2 separate regions of the Homo sapiens genome follow, and region 2 is linked to region 1. Evidence: promoter capture Hi-C in 16 types of primary human blood cells and fetal thymus (Javierre and others, 2016). All regions are on one chromosome and are shown on one strand. The core of a region is centred on a gene start or on the middle of the fragment in contact, and the rest is flanking DNA. Distances in the headings are between cores, read along the strand shown. Region 1 holds the start of FAR1 (fatty acyl-CoA reductase 1). Region 2 overlaps SPON1 (spondin 1).

The links. The method cuts DNA at HindIII sites, captures the fragments that hold promoters and counts their contacts. A CHiCAGO score of 5 or more calls a contact.
Region 2: a contact is called between a fragment that was not itself captured here and the fragment with the promoter of FAR1 in region 1, in 1 of 17 cell types (naive CD4 T cells). The highest score is 5.1, in naive CD4 T cells.

The regions. Positions count from the first base shown.
Region 1 is chr11:13,666,664-13,671,921 of GRCh38, reverse strand. It overlaps FAR1 (fatty acyl-CoA reductase 1), which reads right to left and starts at 3,254. Exons shown (of 12, transcript NM_032228.6): 1 at 3,116-3,254. RefSeq lists an enhancer at 2,695-2,744 and silencers at 2,825-3,104, 3,215-3,704. The HindIII fragment of the contact is 7,046 bases long and covers 1,146-5,258 here.
Region 2 is chr11:14,259,438-14,264,695 of GRCh38, reverse strand. It overlaps SPON1 (spondin 1), which reads right to left. Exons shown (of 16, transcript NM_006108.4): 12 at 5,246-5,258; 13 at 4,995-5,162; 14 at 3,944-4,108; 15 at 1,721-1,984. Among named protein-coding and RNA genes, the nearest start is that of RRAS2, 97 kb to the left of the region's middle. RefSeq lists an enhancer at 4,756-5,258. The HindIII fragment of the contact is 7,755 bases long and covers 1-5,258 here.

The DNA.
Region 1 (5,258 bases), core at 2,005-4,504:
TTCACTGGCTCTTCTTACATAAACTGACAATCTCTAGAAAATAGATGAGGTCTGACTTGAATTTTCTTGTCAATATTGAACACCCAGCACTTACTACAGTGCCTGGCATCAAGCAGATGCTCAATTAACATTTACTGACTGATTCTGCCAATCCTGACCTGTCCCCTCCTAGCTGTGTGACCTTGGGCAAGTTATATCTCTCTGAGTCTTATCTCCCTCATCTATAAAATACAGATAATCAGAAGATGAGATAATATTTGGAAGGTTCAAAACAGTGTCTGCCACAAAGTAGCACCCAATAAATTTTGCTATTATTATCAATATACTCTAGCACAGGACTCAAAAATGTTTCCAACTTATGATATATGGTTGACTGTTAAACCTACCTCTCAATAACCTTACTTTCACTTCATTCTCCTATAACTATCAAATATTTTATGCTCTTTCCTTTACTACCTATCTCCAATCCATTATCAACTGTTAATTTTCTCTCCTAACCAACATAAAAAATTATTTATCAGCTAAGCTGCAACATAGCCTTGGTTGATTTCCAAACCCCTAAATCTTCATTCGAATCTTCAATCATCCTTAAAAACCATTTTTAATTTGTCACTCTTGTCCACAGTTGCTTATACCAAGTACAAACTACTGGAATGTCATCCTCATGTCTTGTAATAACCCACATCCCAACTTCTAGTTCACATGATGGCTCAAAACTCACCTCTTTCAGGAAACCTTCCCTGATTCACTCCACGCCACTCAGATTACTTCTCTACTGCAAGTCGCCTCAGCACTTAGGTATTGTTATACTAAGGGCAAATGTGATCACAGTAAACAGCATCACTAAGAAATCGCTTTCACAAAATTGTTTCTAGATCATAAATAATGGTCCATTAGTTAAAATGCTTTGCTGATCTGGTTAACAAGCAAACATGTTACACAGCAAATGCTCTCTTTGGCTTCTGTCCTTGACTCTATAACTCTTCACAAACCTTTTGTCCTATCCTCAAACAGAAACTCTATCTCCCATTTAAATACACTGGAAATATGGTAGTGGGCCACCTTCTTTTCTACTACCTCTTCTCTGACCTCAGTCTCTGCCTCCAGCCTCTATCCACACCCCATAAATAAAAATTCCAAAAGCTTCAAATAGAATAGCAGTGATGCATACATACCATGTCTTTCCTGAGTGAAAAAAAAAAAAAAACCCTCAAGCTACTTAGCTACAAAATTCTTCACAAGGGTAATAAATTTCCCAACAAGCCTAATACATAATCAAACTCCAGAAAATTTATGTGGAATTTTTATGGATAAATTTATGGAATAATTTTGGCCGGCGCGGCAGCTAACGCCTGTAATCCCAGCACTTTGGGAGGCCGAGGCGGATGGATCTCTTGAAGTCAGGGGTTCGAGACCAGCCTGGCCAATATGGTGAAACCCCGCCTCTACTAAAAATACAAAAATTAGCCGGTGCGGTGGGGCATGTCTCTGTAGTCCCAACTACTCGAGAGGCTGAGGCAAGAGCTGATCACTTGAACCTGGGAGGTGGAGGTTGCAGCGAGCCAAGATCGCGTCACTGCACTCCAGCCTGGGCAACAAAGCGAGACACACACACACAAATTTATAAAATAAAAACAAAACAAAACAAAAATTATAAAATAATTTTATGGAAAATGTATGGAATAACAGGGCCTGGGTGGGGTGGCTCACCCCTGTAATCCCAAGCCTTTGAGAGGCCACGGTGGAAAGATCTCTTGGGCCGAGGAGTTTGAGGCTGGAACGAGCTATGATCTCGCCACTGCACTCCAGCCTGGGCGACAGCAAACCCTGTCTCTGTTTACTTTTTAAATTAATTTGAAAAAAATACATCAGGATTGTACTTATACGTTAATTCTCACTTGTATTACTGTAAGAGATCTTGCATCATTTTTATGCTATATTACACATGCCCAACATGACAGCTGAGAAACTCCCCTGGAGGGCAGATTTTCTGAGAGTATCTTCTGATGTTGTCTTTAAACCAACACTTTTTTTTTTAACATAAAGAATTAAGGGATTCCTGACTGCCATCTAGTCAAAAGCAAACAATATGTATGCCATTACTTCGGAGGGAGTGAGTTCTTGTGCTGCTGAGGCAAAACGAGATGAACTGTCACAGGGATGGCAGGAGGGGTGGAGTGTAGGAGGAGGATCAGCCCCAGTAGTGAGAATTAAAAACTCTTTTGAGTATTTGGCCCTCCACTAGCAGTAAATTAACCTTCAAACCTGACCAAGACACTACCTGAGACCCTCCACTCTCCGACACCGCAGAATCAGACAACTGTTCTTGCTCAACTACTCATAAAAGATTCACAGCCTTCACCTACCACACATAAATCTACCGCGTTTGCTGCTTGTATACTTTGTCCTAACAGACCAACTAATGCCTTCTAGTCCAATAGCCTCCCGTCCACACCTCACATAAAACCTTCTCAGCCACCTTCCGGTTTCAGTAGGTGCCTCTTACTCCAGATCCACGTGTCCCCAGTTCTCCAGAGACCTTCACCTTCAAAACCCAAGCCCGTCCCCCCTTCACTCCCAGCTGATCTCCACCCAGGCCCTATCAATCCTTACTTCTAATAGGCCAACCACACTCCCCGGCCCCGCGCCTTCTCCCTCAGCACCCTTTTCTGAGCATCACCTATTTCCCACCACTTTCTTCCTCCCCAGACCCGGAATCCTGCAATCACTAGGCCTCCCTTTGCCGCTACCCTCCCGCGAGCACGCGGAGCCCGCTGCTCGGCTAACCACCCCGCCCCACCTTCGCCACCTCTAGCGGCCTCCCACCCCAGGCGGCTCCCCGGGCTCCGCGGCTGCAAACCAGGCCCCACCGTACGTCCCCCACGCGGTCCCGGCCCTGTGAAGGGCGGCGGCGGGGCAAAGAGGGGCAGAGACCACCCGGGGTGAGGCGGGCGCCCTCACTTCTGGGCGTACCCGGGCGGGGGCGGGGGCGGGACGGCTGGTCGGCGCCCCCGCCTCGGCCAGGCCTGCAGCCCGAGCTCCCGCAACCACTTCCCGAGCCAGGCGAGGAGGAGCCCGCAGCCCGGCCGCTCCCGCTGGCGCACCCCCTTCTCACCTAGACGCAGAGGCTCAGGCCTCGCTCTCCCACTGGCCGTCCAGCAATAGCTGCGCCGCCGCCGCCGCCGCCGTCGCGCTCTCTTCACTCGCTTTTCCACCGCCCGCGACCGGCTGCTGAAGAGCGGACGGGCAGTGGCACGCCCATTGGCTGAGGCCCGCAGTCGCGTCAGCCGGCCCCGACCGCACCTCGCGACGTGACTGGCTGGAGCGGCGCCTCTTTTCGACATCCGCTTTTGATTGGCTCTCGCGCACACCCTTATCCGCAGGACCAGTCATCCTCCTCCCTGCTTTAGCCTCTCACCCCCAACCCGGTTTCCCTCCGGGCGGGAGTGGGGCGGGAGCGGACGCCCGCGGAACGCGAACGGCCAATGGGGGCGCGGAGAGAGGGCCGGGAGGTGGGCCCTGCGGCCGGGAGGCTCGCGGGGGAATGCTCAGCCAATGGGCCCGCGCCCCACATCTCGAGTCCTGGAGCGCCCCCGCCGGCTGCTGGCGTCCTGTCGGGTCGCGCCCAGGGCCACGCCCGGCTGTCCGTCGCGCGGGAGGGGCGCCAACTCCCAAGGTTGGGAGCACGCAGCGAGGCCCGCGCGGGAGACAGCGGGGCTGCCATTGTGGCGTGCTTAGCGCTATTATGGTGGGGCCCGGGGGCCCTCCGGCCATTGCTGGGCGTGAGGGATCCGTTCGGAGAACTACCAGCTTGGCGGGTGTGGCCCGGGTCGGTGAGAGCGAAGAGCTCTACGGACCCCTGGAGCCTCCACGGGTCTCGCCCAGTCCCAGGGGACTGTGGGCCCATTCATTCCACCTTCCACTTCCTCCAAAATAATTCCCTACAAAACTTACCGGTAGTGATAGGAGTTAGAATAACGTTTACTTCTGAGGGGTGGGGCACGAGGGAACCTATGGAAAGCTGGAAACATTGCGTCTTGATCCTGGTGGTCGTTCCGGGCTGTGTACACATGGAGGAATTCATCGAGCCGGACACTTAATAGTATTACCACATTCATACGGCTCATTTTTAAAAAATAATAAAAGGATCATGAGAATTCTGTAATAATATTACCACAATCTTTGGGCTCCGTGGGACTCCATTGTATAAACAGTCCGCATTAGGATTTAGCTGTCATTCAAAACATGCAAGCCATAGGAAGAAAAAAAAAGATTTGTGAGAAGCAAAAATGAGTGAACGCTCTTGGCACGGTGAATAGCATGCACAGGTTGGTATTTAGGGATGGATGGCTCAGAGTGATTTTTCTGTGGGGATTTAGAGCTTGTTTCAGTGCCTGGCCCTGTTAGTAGCTAAAAGCAGTCATAGTGCTGCATCCAGTTGGAAACTACAAAAGCTCACTGAACTGCCTACTTTGTGGCAGATGTTAAGTTCTGGCTCAGGAAACTAATTTGAATGCCATGGCTTCTGCCTCGATGAGCTCACAGTCTTGCAGCAAGTACTGTCATTTCTGGAGGAGGGCACAGAACACAAAGCTAACACACTTGCTTACCCTCAGGGATGTCGCATTCCGCTACTTTAGGCAAGACAGTGTATGCCTGGAACCCATCCAGTCCAATAGCCATAGTCATAAATAGCCAGGATCAGGTGAAACACTTCTTAGAAGTGGGTCAAAATATTCTCCCAAAACAAACGTAAGAACTATGGACCAAATTCTAATCTGTAAAAGAACACAAGCAACAAAACAAAGATTACAGTATTCATATTTATTAATTTAGTCATTAAGTTGTTTAAATCAGGTAAATGCCTTTATTTAAAGTGCTTGTCACTACACTAGGCATATAAACTTGGATATGACAGTATTCCACAGAACATAGGGTTTAATGGAGAGACAGACATAAACAATGCCAGTGTAATACAGGATGAGGGAATACCTAGAAAGAGGATGTAACCCAGCATGGGGGATTCAGGAGCATGTTAGAACATGTGTAGCTAAGTTAACCACTGCTAAGGTTTATCAGTATACTGATAGGGTAATATCACTATAGGAAATAGACACTATTTCCAGAAAATACTTCATAAACTTTTTGTTGTTTGTGCATATGTCTTAATTTTAAAAATTGATATAAGTACAAAAGCAAAGTAATGCTTAGTTCTGAGGAAAATATGATGTAATTATTAAGTAATCACTTAATAAATG
Region 2 (5,258 bases), core at 928-3,427, 590 kb before region 1:
ACAGCTAAGAGTCATGGAGGAATGTACCGTACAACTATGTACCTGCCACATAGTAGGCTTTAATGAATGTTTGTTGACTGGCTGACTACCATGTAGAACAGACAGCACTTTGATATGCAAACAGCTCCCTAATCATAAGGATCCTGAACCATCAAGGAGATCCTCATGCTTCAAAAAGAATAGGCCTTTAAAAATCAGAAAACTTGATGTACATGTTAATCTTCACTTTTTTACATGGGCACCTTCAGCACTGAAGTCCCTGGCAGGCATTTTCTTTTTCTTCTGAAGTCCTGGAACTCTGAAGTTAAGCTGGAGTTTGGGGATGTATAATCTTTCTCTTGGGTTACAAATAAAACCTATCTGGCCTCTGTGTCTGTTTGCCATCCCCAAATCAGTCAACACAGGTCTGATACAGTCACCCTCTTGCTTAAAACCACCTACAGAATCAGGTCCCAAAATCCTTGGTGGGCCACTGGCCTTGTGTGGTCTGGTCCCTGCCTTCCCAGCCTGGTTTCCTGCCTGCCTTGTCCTCTGTGCTTCATCTGCATCCCATTTATCACTTGGACCTATCACTTGGACCTATCATGGTCTTTGGCATCTCTGTGCCTTTGTAATGACTATTCTTGCTGCCTGGAATGTACTTTTCTTTTTTTTTTTTTTTAATTTGAGACGGAGTTTCACTCTTGTTGCCCAGACTGGAGTGCAATGGTGTGCTCTTGGCTCACTGCAACCTCTGCCTCCCCAGTTCAAGTGATTCTCCTGCTTCAGCCTCCTGAGTAGCTGGGATTACAGGTGTGCGCCACCATGCCCGGCTAATTTTTGTACTTTTAGTAGAGATGGGGTTTCACCATATTGGCCAGGCTGGTCTCAAACTCCTGACCTCAAGTGATTGGCCTGCCTTGGCCTACCAAGGTGCTGGGATTACAGGCATGAGCCACCGTGCCCGGCCTGGAATGTACTTTTCTAAGTGGCAAACTCCTCTAGATTTTTCAAGACCCACTCTAGTTTTCCCTGCTCTGACATCTCCCTGAACTCCAGTCAATGTAAGATGATGCTCATTCCTCAGCTCCCTGAGCACTTGGTGCATTGTTCTATTAGTTATTTGTCAGCTTGGATCAATATTATTTGGGGAAATAAAACTCAAGGCTGACATGACACTGCTGATAAACTTCTGGTTAGCCTTGCAAAAAAAAATCATAAAGTCTCAGGCCACGGCTGCCTTGTCTGAGCCACACCCTTAAAATGGAAGATGATGTGTTCTGGGAGGTTCTCAGGAACATTCCCTAAATGATGAACAAGACAAGACTCCTTTGACACATCTGTATCATTTTCCCTCTTTGCAAGGAGTGAATGGTGTTGCTAAGTCATAACTGACTTTGAGCAAAGTTGGACACATTATTGGTTTTATATGTGTGTAAAGAAGGAACTGTAATTCCTAAAGATTCTTTGCTTGAAAATTTATTTTTGGCAGGTAATTAGGTTATCTAAATGTTCTTTGATAAATGACCCCCACCGCCAATCTCCTTTATAAATTATGCTTGCTCAATATTTGGGAACAAACTTGGATCTAAAGAATCAAAATGTGGCCTGAAGACTCCAGAAGATGCAGACTCTCCCCGACTTTTTTTTTTTTTTTTTTTTTAAACAGGTCCAAGACTTAGCCCAGTGCAGAACCCTGCCTGTCCTGGAGACCACCCAGGCTGACACTTGGGAGCCATACCTGGGAACTGCTCCCCTTCAGACTCTTCCTTCAGCTGCTCACTCCGCCGGCTCTCTCGGGCCTCCCTCCAGCGTAGCTTTTGGATGGATGGATTTCGAAGGCATTTTCGGATGCGGCACTTTTTTCGCTGCACAGTCTCTGGGCAGGGTGCACCTCCAAACTGAGGCTCCATTTGGATCATCCGGGTTCGAATCACGTGGCCTTTCCCACATGACTTGTTACATTCCGACCACTGGGACCACTCGGTGAGCTCACAGTCAATGGCTGGCAAGACACAGATGGGCATGAGTGTATCACATGTCTGAAACAAGATATGGTCACGCTCTCCTTTGAACATCTCAACAAGCCTATGAGGGATGCAAAGCAGGTGCTGTGTCATGCTATTTTACAGAAGAAGAAACTGAGGCTCCAAAGAGGCAGGCTGACTTCAGCCCGTGTGGTTGGTAAGCAGCAGAGGCAGGATTGGTGCCAGGTCATCACCCATTCTATGCTCCCTCTATGACTCAAGAAGGCTTTGGAGGACTTTCAGGATGTGTTCAGAGCCTCTTGCCCTGCTCTGTGAACTAGAATATTGTCAGATCAGCCTCAAGTACAGAATAGCTTCCCACAGTCCCAAACTCACTGGTGATATTTTTCAGAGCAAGGCCAGCAAGCCCCCTGCTGCTCTTTGGAGAGAACAAGTCAACAAGCTAAAGGCGGCTGACCCTTGTGGACCAATACCAAGGACATTGTGGTTCTAACACACCCTGGCAGCTTTTCATTCTCAACATCATCCTGTGTTCTATATATGGTGGTCTATGCAAAAAACACAGGAGCCAGAAATGGGACATTCAGTAGAGAAGAGGGTCAGGAGCAAGTGGTGCTTTATGGTTTATCGAGATCCAGTAAATTCTTACTAAGCCAGCATCTCATAAATGTGAAAGGAAAATAACACATCAGTTTGACTGTCAGGATGTGTCCCAGGGAGGTAAATTATTCCAAGCTCTCTGTTGGTCTTGCAAGGCCAAAGTCAGGGTGGTGGACTTAGATGTCCTCATTTAGTTCAACAGTTTCAGTTCTTTTATCCCGCCTGTGGAAGCTCAGGCAGCTTTCTTATCTGCAAAATGGGGATCATGGTATTTTTTTTTTCATTAGGTTGTAAGGATTAAATGAGATGCTCCCAGCCCTGTAAGTGCTCCATAAATTTTCATTTTCTTCTCCCTTACTTCAGTGGACCCCAGGCACTCTAAGTCAGAAGGCTATGGGGCCCCAACTCTGGTGAGCTGGCCTGAACCATGGGCCAATCTTAGTTACTGAAAACCCCAGGCTTTCTCTAGTGGGTGGTCCAAGTTACCTCCACCCATGGCTGAGTCTCCTAAAACAACCCAGGAGCTGGAGCATGGAGCAGGGATTAAGTAAGGCCTATCCTTGCCATGTCCAGTGCTCATACTTTGGACCAATTACTTGGTTTCATCCTCAGAGCAACCTAGGAAGTATTTCCTGCTATTTTACAGATGGAGAAACTGAGGAACAGAGGTGCTGAGTCATCGGCTGAAGGTTACTAGCTAGGGGAGGGAGGATGAACGACTGCAAGTACATGCTGGAGGGGGCCAGAGCCACAGCCAGTGTGCCTGCCCTTTTACCACCCAAAAAAGCAGCTCTTGGAAGACCAGCCAAGGAAACTGGCTTGCTCTGCTTGGAGATTAGTCCCATGTAATATAAACAGCTGATCGCAGAGACTTTGGAAAACAGGACTGGGAGTGGAGCGGGGTGGGGTGAGTTTTTGAGAACTTGGCTTGTTTTCTTGCTGGTTTTCTTACCAGTCTGCAGGAGTCATTGATTTAATGTCCAGCCTCTGGTCATGGGGAATTAAAATGGTCACAGGGAAAATAGAATTAAAATGCTTGGAAAATCCATGGGTCAGGCAAGCCTATAATTGTTGGGGGAGAGGAGGGAAAGAACTAAGGTTTATTGAGCTTTGTGCTGTTTTTCGTATGTGTCTGTCATTTAGACTTCACAGGAACCTTAACTTTGGGTGTTCTGTAGACGGTAGTGGGATTCTCACTTTATTAATGAAACTGACTGCAGTGTTTAAGTAACTGCAAACACTGAAAGCCAAACCCCAAACTCTTCCCCAGCAAACCATGTTATTCTAGGATCTAGCAGTATTAGCACTGGCTGGTTCGGGGCTCCCTGGACTCAGGAACATAGAAGTGATGGGCCTTGAGGAGCTCCAGGACTTACGGCATTCAGGGAGCATGCACTTCTCCACCTGCTCCAGATCCTCATTGCAGTCTCCAAGTTCTGCCAGAGACTTGAGCATCCGCTGTCGGGTTCGCATGCCCTTCCCGCAGGTCACGCTGCAGTCACTCCACTCGGACCATGGGGACAGCAAGCATGGGATGGTGTCTAGATCAAGAACCAGGTTTGCCACTGAGAACAGGTTCCTTTTGTTTTCGTTGATCTCCCTGACCCCACAGTGTTCCACACCGAGTCCCCTGCTTTGGCCCCTGGAATAAAGTGGAATTGGCCCATGGGTTCAAATAAGAGTGAAATCTATGGAGCAAGAAGTGGCTCAGCAGCCTACTGCTCTTCTTTTCACTCTCTTTCATCTCCCTGCTGACCCCCCCCGATGGTTATGACATGAGGGTAGCAATATGACTACATAAGTCCCCACTAGAAAGGCCACTGAGGATCTTAGCAGGGTCTTCCTAGAGACAGAAACATCCCACACTCACTAAGAATCAGGCACTAAAGGAGAGGCTCAGGGATGCATTTTTGGACATTGTCCTGAATTCCCTAGAATGTGTATATACTTGTGTGCCTGTATACATCTGCATACTAATGTGTGGGCAGGCCCATATGCATTTGTGCACAGAGCAGGGGAGGTCATGCTTTATGGGATCAGCCAAGTCCAATGTACAACAGGAGTGGGAGGAGTGGGCTGGACCTGGGTAATGTATGTCCCGCCTAAATGTATTGGCCCTCCTCCCCACCACTGCAAGAAAGACACTCCTATAAAACACAGCTGCAGGTGAATTCTCTATCCAGAGGCCACCAGTTTGCCACCCCAGCATTGCTTAGAATGTCCCCCAGTGGAGGTTACTCTCTCTGGGTCTGGTTGATGTCTACACACCTATGTCTCTCATCTGGCTCCCAGCAGTGCCCAGCAAGGACCATGGGCCATGCTTTCCTCTGCTCAGCCTCCGACCTTTATGGTGGTAATAGTGGATGCCATGGCCCTCCACGCCTGTCCCCAGTGGCCTCCTCCAAGTCCACCCCCGCTCTCACTCACGGCACTCTGGCATCATGCACTTCTCTGCCTGTGATGTCTCGGCTTTGCACATGGAGCCATCTGCGGGGTTCATCTTGATCATGCGGTGCCGCTTCTTCATGCCCATGCCGCAGGTGGCGCTGCACTCGTCCCACTCGCCCCACTCGGTCATCAGGCAGCTGCTGGGAGCTGGGGAGGCCAGCGGCATTGGAGTCGCACCTGCTGCCTCCCCGACCTACTTGCCCGCCTGCCCGCCCGGGGCCCCCACTCACAGCACTCCTCGTT